Linked DNA regions of Homo sapiens: regions 2 and 3 are each linked to region 1. Evidence: promoter capture Hi-C in 16 types of primary human blood cells and fetal thymus (Javierre and others, 2016). All regions are on one chromosome and are shown on one strand. Each heading gives the region's core, a stretch centred on a gene start or on the middle of the fragment in contact. The rest is flanking DNA. Distances are from core to core; before and after follow the strand shown.

Evidence for each region. The method cuts DNA at HindIII sites, captures the fragments that hold promoters and counts their contacts. A CHiCAGO score of 5 or more calls a contact.
Region 2: a contact is called between a fragment that was not itself captured here and the fragment with the promoter of CDK7 in region 1, in 2 of 17 cell types (neutrophils and total CD4 T cells). The highest score is 5.3, in neutrophils.
Region 3: a contact is called between a fragment that was not itself captured here and the fragment with the promoter of CDK7 in region 1, in 1 of 17 cell types (neutrophils). The highest score is 8.1, in neutrophils.

What each region holds. Positions count from the first base shown.
Region 1 is chr5:69,233,398-69,236,758 of GRCh38, forward strand. CDK7 (cyclin dependent kinase 7) reads left to right here and starts at 1,489. Exons shown (of 12, transcript NM_001799.4): 1 at 1,489-1,644; 2 at 1,997-2,056. The coding sequence starts at 1,579. RefSeq lists an enhancer at 1,211-1,739. The HindIII fragment of the contact is 18,686 bases long and covers 918-3,361 here.
Region 2 is chr5:69,198,296-69,201,430 of GRCh38, forward strand. All of the region lies in intron 5 of CENPH (centromere protein H), which reads left to right. Among named protein-coding and RNA genes, the nearest start is that of CENPH, 10 kb to the left of the region's middle. The HindIII fragment of the contact is 594 bases long and covers 1,423-2,016 here.
Region 3 is chr5:69,277,751-69,281,038 of GRCh38, forward strand. It overlaps CCDC125 (coiled-coil domain containing 125), which reads right to left. Exons shown (of 12, transcript NM_176816.5): 12 at 2,425-3,288. Among named protein-coding and RNA genes, the nearest start is that of CDK7, 45 kb to the left of the region's middle. The HindIII fragment of the contact is 7,449 bases long and covers 1-3,288 here.

The DNA.
Region 1 (3,361 bases), core at 239-2,738:
CTGGGCGCAGTGGCTTACACTTACAAATACCAGCACTTTGGGAGGCCGAGGAGGGTGGATCACCTGAGGTCAGGAGATTGAGACCAGCCTGGCCAACAAGGTGAAACCCCGTCTCTACTAAAAATACAAAAATTAGCTGGGTGTGGTGGAGCAGGCCAGTAATCCCAGCTAATCGGGAAGCTGAGGCAGGAGAATCGCTTGAACCCAGGAGGCAGAGGTTGCAGTGAGCTCAGATCGGGCCAGCGTACTCCAGCCTGAGCAACAGAGTGAGACTGTCTCAAAAACAAACAAACAAACAAAGGCAGGGGGAGGGGGGCACATTTCCATGTTGACAGCTGCTCTGGCTCAGAAACTTTTAATTATCCACTAGTAGAGCCATCTGGATTACTGCAATAGTTCTCTAATAGGCCTTCTTTCTTTTTCTTGTCCCTCAAAATCTATAATATAGTCTCCCAACAGCAAGAGTGAACCTTTTAAAAGTGAGTCAGGTCATATCACTTGTCTGCTCCAATCCCTCCAGTGGGTTTTCAGTGATGACTTTCTTGTACCACCCTATTTAAAACCTCCATCCCTGCCCCTGCCCTGATTTGTTATCCTTTATCTGCTTTATTATCTCTATAGCACTTATCACCTATGTATCATAACACATATTTGACTTGTTTTTTTATCTCCTCCCATTGGAAGGCAGGGATCTTTGCTCCCTGCTATCTCAGATTCTACAATGGTGCTTGGCACATAGATAACACTCAATATCAGCATCCTAAGAGAGAGAAAAATGAAAAAGGAAAAGCACTCAATATGTTTTTGAATAAATGAATTAGTGTGTTTGTTATGACAATTTATGATAATCAAGGGGTTGGGTACTCATTACTGCTAAGTTAATTGAGCACTGTCTCAATTAATTGAGTTAATGTCTAAGCTTTCTGCATGTTTCATTTAATACCCACAATCTCCTGTGATGTAGTTCATTATTTTTTCCATTTTACCGAGTAGAAAACTGAGGACTAGAAGCTGATTCCCACAGCACGTTTCAGTTGAGTTGGATTTTGTTTTCCTGGGCCTGCTTCTTCATAAAGGGACTGGACTAAGAATACTCTTGACCAGCCCGTAAGAACTTGGCACTCGTCTCAGTAATCTGAGATAGCAGGGTTTGGCGTCCATAGCAACCACGGCGACAGGACGCGCTCGAGCAAGAACCAAAAAGCGAGAACAGGTACAAGGCCAAACTTTCTACATTCACAGACACCTACCAAACCCCGAACATGGAACACCAAATTAGAACGCTGACCAGTTCCTGGTAATGTAGAAAACACCCAAGTTAAAACGGCAACAGAGTGACACAGCAGCCATTGAAGATGCCCCACTTCAGGCACCGACAGGCGTCACGTGACGGGTGGGGAACGCCAACCGCCTGGGCCTAGCGCAGCTTCCTCCGCCCACCACGGAAGTGAGGCGGGGATACTAAAGCGACGGAGCCCGGTGGACGGAAGTGGGTGTTGGAGGCTTTAAGGTAGCTTTAAATTCGTGTTGTCCTGGGAGCTCGCCCTTTTCGGCTGGAGTCGGGCTTTACGGCGCCGGATGGCTCTGGACGTGAAGTCTCGGGCAAAGCGTTATGAGAAGCTGGACTTCCTTGGGGAGGGACAGGTGAGGCTCTCTGGAAGGACGGGGAGGGCCCCAAGCGGACAGCCCCGCGCCGCCTCCACCTTTGCGGGTTTTCCCGTGGAGGCCAGAGGTCTGGCTTGGCTGCTCGTTCTCGTTGGGGGAAACCGTCCAGACGCACTTGCTGCCCATTCTTTACATCCTGGGGGTGAATCCCTGAGGGGCCTCTCCTTGCTGAAGAGTAGCCTGGAGCTGGACGGAGACTGACCCGCCACGTTTCCAGCCGCCGCGAGTCTGCTCAGGAACTCTGGGCTCTTTGCTTCGCGAAATGTAAAAATGCAAAAAGGCAAACACAAAAACTCCCATAAACTTATGTTATTTCTATTTTTCTTTCTAGTTTGCCACCGTTTACAAGGCCAGAGATAAGAACACCAACCAAATTGTCGCCATTAAGAAAGTGAGTTACCTTTTTATGTTGTTTTTAAGTCTCCTTGAAGATGTCTGTATTATTAATTGACTGATAGCCATTTTATTAGTCTTGACCATACTCTGATAATGAGTTACTCATGTCATTTTCAGAGACAAAATAATTAATTAGTGCTTTGTGTTCCCAAACGGAACTCTAGGGTTGAACCCGTTTTAATTTCTATTGAAATGAAGAAGAAGCTGTATGTTATTTTTACTGCATAAATTCATATGTTGTGGGCAAGTACTGCCCATCTTTTCGGTCCTCAGAACTATTGGATACCATGATCTTTCTAGGTCACTGTTTATACCTCACCTGCATCCACTCAGTGTGTCGTATCTGTATTTTCTGTGTACGGATTTACCATGAAAGACTTTCACTAGCATGAACAACATTGATGTGAGGTCTAAAATGAGTTCAGTAGCTTCTTATATTCATTCAAAAGACCTGGGTCGGATTCAGTAGCTTCTTATATTCATTCAAAAGACTTGGGTCGGGCCAGCCGCGGTGGCTCACGCCTGTAATCCCAGCACTTTGGGAGGCCGAGGTGGGCGGATCACTTGGGGTCAAGAGATCCAGACCATCCTGGCCAACATGGTGAAACCCTGTCTCTACTAAAAATACAAATATTAGCTGGGTGTGGTGGCACCTGTCTGTAATCCCAGCTACTCGGGAGGCTGAGGCAGGAGAATCACTTGAACCTGGGAGGTGGAGGTTGTAATGAGCCGAGATGGTGCCACTGTGCTCCAGCCTGGTGACAGAGGGAGACTCCATCTTAAAAAAAAAAAAAAAAAGATTTGGGTCATAATTACATAACTCACGTTCACCTACATTGTTTCTTTTAACCTTCAAAACAATCTATAAAGTGGTTAAAAGTAACCCTATTTTATACTTGAGGTACCTGAGACTGAGTGACTAGGTGACTTGTCAAGATCACACAGCTAGTGATTGCTGAAGCTGGGATTTAAATCCAGGTGTCCTGATGTTGCTTTTGTTACCGTTGCTACTTTGAATCTGCTTCTCCTGCTTCAAAAACCCTAACTCCTTGGAAGTTATCCATATTTAACATTAATTCCCCCTTTTTTTGGTCATCTTCCAGCCTCCAAGTACTGTCTTGCATTCATTTAAAACCTGACTGACTACTTCTTCTCAATTATTCCTGCCATAATTTTTTTATTTTTTATTTTATTTTATTTTTTATTTTTTTTGAGACAGAATTTTGCTTGTTGCCCAGGCTGGAGTGCAATTGTGCGATTTCGGCTCACTGGAACCTCTGCCTCCCGGGTTCAAGCACTT
Region 2 (3,135 bases), core at 470-2,969, 35 kb before region 1:
ATGGGTATAAGCACTTTTTTTTTTTGGAGACGGAATCTTGCTCTGTCACTCAGACTGGAGTGCAGCTCACTCCAACCTCCATCTCTGCGGTTCAAGCAATTCTCGTGCCTCAGCCTCCTGAATAGCTGGGATTACAGGCACCTGCTACAACTCCCAGGTAATTTTTGTATTTTTAGTAGAGACGGGGTTTCACTATGTTGGCCAGGCTGGTCTGACCTAGGCACTTCTATCTTGAGTATCTTAGCCCACACTGCTACACATTTTCCCATATTCCAGCTAAATCCAGGATTACATAAATCCAAAAATCTGAATTTGAACACTCATAACTTTTTCTCTCCCATAAAAGGAGAGTTTAGCTTGGGTACAGAGGCTCATGCCTGTAATCCCAGCACTTTGGGAGCCTGAGGCAGGAGGATAGCTTGAGCCCAGGCATTTGAGATCAGCCTGGGCAACATAGGGAGGCCTCATCTCTACAAAAAATTTTTAAAAATTAGCCAGGCATGGTGGAGCCACCAGTAGTCCTTGCTACTCCAGAGGCTGAGGGGAGAGGATCAGCCTCCTGCCTTGATTCTAGGAGGTCATGGGGCTGCAGTAAGCTGTGATCTTGCCACAGCACCTTAGCCTGGGCAATAGTAAGACCCCATCTCAAAAACAAAAAAAAAAAAGACATTCTTGAGTTAAAGGTGTGGGGTGCAGGAGAGCAGGACAGATTCATCACATTGTTACTGAAATGTCAGGGCTTTGGTCTAGGTCCTGTTGCTTGCTGCACAGAAATGTAATCACTGACATGAGTGTTGTCAGGAAGAAGGCTTTGAGTACTGTAGCCAAAGAGAGGGGAGATCAGTCTCATCTCCTAGATGGACTAAAATTAAGGAGGTGTTTTGTTTTGTTTTGTTTTTTTGAGACAGGGCCTCACTCTGTTGCTCAGGCTGGAGTGCAGTGGCGTGATCCTAGCTCACTACCACCTTCACCTCCCAGGTTCAAGTGATCCACCTCAGCCTCCCAGGTAGCTGGGACTACAGGTGCCCACCACCGTGCCTGGCTAATTTTTGTATTTTTTGTAGAGATGGGGTTTTGCCATGTTGCCCAGGCTGGTCGCGAACTGCTGAGCTCAAAGGGATCCACCTGCGTTGGCCTTCCAAAGTGCTGAGATTACAGGTGTGAACCACCACACCCTGCCAAATTAAGGGTTTATATAGCAGGGAAGATATGTACCCATGTATGGGAAGACAGGAATTAGGGAGGGGTAAGGAAGAGGAGTTAGTCAATAGGAAGCAGGTTAGGCAATCATGATGGGTGAGGGGTCTGATGTCTTATTGTCTAGAGGGTGTGATCTTATAAGTTTCAGTTCCTTGATACTATCTGGGAGTCCTGATGGTTTCCTGAGAAGGGAACTCAGGTAAGACAGTTGTAACTTTCTCAAGCTTTAAGACTGGGAGGGTCAGTTTCTATGTTTATTCAAAAGAAATCATAAACATCAGTTCTGTGGGACAATTGGGCCAGTTTCACTGTTGACACCAAAAAACAGAAGGGTCAGGCCGGTGCGGTGGCTCACGCCTGTAATCCCAGCACTTTGGGAGGCCGAGGCAGGCGGATCGTCTGAGATCAGAAGTTCAAGACCAGCCTGGCCAACATGGTAAAACCCTATCTCTACTAAAAATGCAAAAATTAGCCGGGCGTGGTGGCAGGTACCTGTAATCCCAGCTACTCGGGAGGCTGAGGCAGGAAAATCGCTTGAACCCAGGAGGCGAAGGTTGCAGTGAGCTGAGATTGTGCCACTACACTCCAGCCTGGGCAACAGAGTGAGACTCTGTCTCAAAAAAAAAAAAAAAAAAAAACAGAAAGGTCAAATAGGCTGAGGCAGTGTTTTATTAGCACATTTTAAAGTTTATAACTGTTAAAAAAAATTAATTGGGATGCAACTGGAATGCCATTAGGCAGAACCATCTTTAGCCTTGAGCTCCATCACCTTGGGATTCCTATGTAAGCCTGATGTAAACAGTAAAATGGAACTTAAGCTTACCCAATGAGAAACTGCCAACTAACTTCTAACTAGAGATGATCCACTTTAACCAACCAATTACATTTTGTCTTCTATGAACACCTTATAAAAGCTTCCTCACTCAACTCCCACAGTAGAGCACTTAACAGCTTATAATCCTGTGCTGCCAGATGCATGAATTGTCTTCTCAAATAAACTTGTTAGATTTTAATATGCCTAAATTTATCTTTTAAGACAACCAAATATAGCTGTAAATAGTAGAAAAATGAGTTCAGCTCTCCCAGGTTTGTGCATATTCCCCTTTTGACCTTCTCAGTTAGTTGCTTCTACAGTGTTTTTCACACCTGGCTGATTATCAGAATAATGTCTATTATAGTGATCACATTGTTGGTCCTATCCCAAACTTTCTGAATCAGCGTATCTTTTTTTTTTTTTTTTTTTTTTTTTTTTTTTTTTGAGACGGAATCTTGCTCTGTCACCCAGGCTGGAGTGCAGTGGCACGATCTGCTTGGCTCACTGCAACCTCTGCCTCCAGGTTCAAGCGATTCTCCTGCCTCGGCCTCCTGAGTAGCTGGGATTACAGACACACACCATCACACCTGGCTAATTTTTGTATTTTTAGTAGAGATGGGGTTTTGCCATGTTGGCCAGGCTAGTCTCGAGCTTCTGACTTCAAGGGATCCACTGTACCTGACCTTTTTTTTTTTTTTAAATAGAGATGTGGTCTTGCTATATTGCCCAGGTCTCAAAACTCCTGAGCTCAAGCAATCCTCCTGCCTCAGCCTCCAAAAGTGCTGGGATTACAGGCATGAGCCACTGAACCAGGCCCCGAATCAGCATATCTGAAGGTCAGGAACTAGGAATCCTTACTTAACGAACCTCCCAGATGACTGTGGCACTCTGAAGTATGAGAGCCACTGCTCTGCGCAGTCTTATTCCATACTGTTTTGCTCCAGCCATACCAAACTACTTGATCTAGGCAATTACTTCATATCCTTATTCCACCCTGTGCATAACTCTGGTTCATATTTGTTACTGCGCTATAGTATGATTGTGGATTTATTTTTCTCCACTAGATTCTTTCCTCTTTGAAAACAGATACTGTGTTTTATTTTATTTTACATTCCTGGCAC
Region 3 (3,288 bases), core at 289-2,788, 44 kb after region 1:
CAGGGCAAGACACAGTCTCAAAAAAAAAAAAAATGTAGTAGTGGTGTAGTAAATACTACCCAAACTTAACAAATATTAATATACGGAATGTACTAAAAAAAGAAAACATTACAGATAAAATTGAGATTCCCCCCAACCTTTTTTCTGAGGCGGGGGACAAAGTCTCACTCTGTCACTCAGGTTGGAGTGCAGGGGCACAATCCCAGCTCACTGCAAACTCTGCCTTCAAGTGATTCACTTGCTTCAGCCTCCTGAGCAGCTGGGATTATGGGCACGCACCACTACACCTGCCTAATTTTTTTTATATTTTTAGTAGAGACAGGATTTCACCATGTTGGCCAGGCTGGCCTCTAATTCCTGACCTGAAGTGATCTGCCCACCTCGGCTTCCCAAAGTGCTGGGATTACAGGCATGAGCCACTACACCTGGCCAGAGGTTCCCTCTTAAAAATTCACTTTATTTTATTTTTTTTTGAGATGGAGTCTCGCTCTGTCACCCAGGCTGGAGTGCAGTGGTGCGATCTTGGCTCACTGCAACCTCCACCTCCTGGATTCAAGCAGTTCTCCTGCCTCAGCCTCCCAAGTAGCTGGGGTTACAGGTATGTGCCACCACGCCTGGCTAATTTTTTTTTTTTTTGTATTTTTAGTAGAGATGGGGTTTCACCATATTGGCCAGGCTGGTCTCGAACTCCTGACCTTTTCATCCACCTGCCTTGACCTCCCAAAGTGCTGGGATTACAGGTGTGAGCCACCGCGCCCAGCCAATACTTCACTTTATTTCTATTTTTTCCTTTTCACTTTCCCCAGAGGGAAATGACTCTATGAAATTGGTGTGTATCTTTCCATGATTTTATGCTAGTATTCTGTAAGAGTGCATGTAGTGAGATGCATAACAATGTACAGCATTGTTTTGGGTCTCAAAATTGTATATAAATTGATAGAATCTCTCTCTCCTTTTTTTTTTTTTTTTTTTGTGAGATAGTCTCTGTTGCCCAGGTTGGAGTGTAGTAGTGCAATCATGGCTCACTGCAGCTTCGAACTCCTGGGCTCAAGCCATCCTTCCACCTCTGTCCCCAGTAGCTGGGACTACAGGTGCATACCACCATGCCTGGTTAATTTTTTTTTTTTTTTTAATGAGACAGAGTCTTGCTCTGTTGCCCAGGCTGGAGTGCAGTGGTGCAATCTCAGCTCACTGTAACCTCTGCATCCTGGGGTTCAGGTGATCCTCCTACCTTAGCCTCCCAAGTAGCTGGGATTACAAATGTGTACCACCATGCCCAGCTAATTAAAGTAACACAAATGTATTAGCTCACAGTTCTGTAGGCCATATATCTGGCTCAGCTGTGTTTTCTGCTTAGGGTCTCACAAGGCCAAAATCAAGGTGTTAGTCAAACTAGTTTTATTTGGAGGCCCCTGGAAAGAATCTGCTACCAAGCTCATGCAGGTTTGTTTTTTTTTTTTTTTTGGAGATGGAGTCTTGCTCTGTCGCCCAGGCTGGAGTGCAGTGGCACGATCTCGGCTCACTGCAACCTCCGCCCACTGGGTTCACCCATTCTCCTGCCTCAGCCTCCCGAGTAGCTGGGACTACAGGTGCCCGCCACCACGCCCAGCTAATATTTTGTATTTTTAGTAGAGACGGGGTTTCACTGTGTTAGCCAGGATGGTCTCTATCTCCTGACCTCGTGATCCGCCCACCTTGGCCTCCCAAAGTGCTGGGATTACAGGCGTGAGCCACCGTGCCCGGCCGCTCATGCAGTTCTTATAGTTGCAATTCTTGTGCTCCATTGCCCCCATTTCCCTTTTGACTGTTAGCCCAGGGCCTCTCTCAGCTTCTTAAGGAAACTTCCATGCCTTTGTCCTGTGGCACTCACCACAGGACAGCAGCAGTGCATCAAACCCACTCGTGCTTCAAATCTGTCTGACTTCCTCGTGTGTGTGTGTAGACAGGGAGCTGCCAAGGGAGAAGCAGCCAAGCAGCTAAGAGTCCAGGAGATAATAGCGCCAAAGGGATCTGAGGACACTCAAAATGTGTCTAACACGTGAGGCAGGATAGGAGTGTATTATTCCGTTCTCAAACTGCTATAAAGAATACTACCCAAGACTCAGTAATTTATAAAGGAAAGAGGTTTAATTGACTCATAGCTCCACATGGCTGGGCAGGCCTCAGGAAACTTACAATCCTGGCAGAAGGGGAAGCAGGCATGTTTTACATGGCAGCAGGAGAGACTACCATGTATAAAACCATTGGATCTCGTGAGAACTCACAATCATGAGAACAGCATGGGGGATACCACCCCCATGATCCAGTCACCTACCACCAAGTCCCTCCTTCAACATGTGGGAATTATGGGGATTACAATTCAAAATAAGACTTGGGTGGGGACACAGCCAAACCGTATCAGGTAGTCAAGGAAATGACCATTTTCTCATGACCATACAGCCAACACAATAAACCTCAGCATTCACATTGTAATTGAGCTCATTTAAGCAAAGCTATCTTCAGTAGGGACTTTCCCTTCTAGAGAGCATACACATTTTGATTTTACCTGTCCTCAAACTGATCCTTTGCACATGATAATAATAAAAAACACACCTCTAGGTGGAAATTTAAGATGCTACTGAGACATGTGGTGTATGAACAAGCATTAACAGCTACTGCACCTGTGCAGAGGACCACCCAGGACATGATTACTGCAACACCTCACCTCCTTATGAATAATAATGCAAAACTCCCATAAAGGGAGTTTCTCCAGCAATAATCAATGCTGTCTCACCCTTACGAGCAGCCGGCCCTGAATTCTCTCTCTCAGGTGTACTGTCTGTTCTGCACCTAACTTTCAAAATACTCCTTTTCTTTTGCAATAAATTATGCTGCATCTCCTTTGCTGTCTCATTTAAATTCTTTTAAACCAAGAAGACAAGAACTGAGGTATCACAACAGCTGTCAACACATGCATTTTGCTTTATTCATTTGCTTTATCTTATGGATCTCTCCATTTTGTAGAGTATTCCATTGTATAGCTGTACAGTAATTTAGATAAACTTTTGTATTGATAGCCTTTTCTTTTGGAGATGGGGGTCTCACTCTGTCACTCAGGCTGGAGTGCAGTGGCACAATCACAGCTCACTGCAGCCTCAAGCTCCTGGGCTCATGCCATCCTCCTGCCTCAGCCCCTGAGTAGCTGGGACAACAGGTGCATGCCACCATGCCTTGCCGAGTTTTTGTATAGATGGGGTTTCACCATGTTGCCCAGGCTGGTCTTGAACTCTGGACTGGTCTGGACTTGAG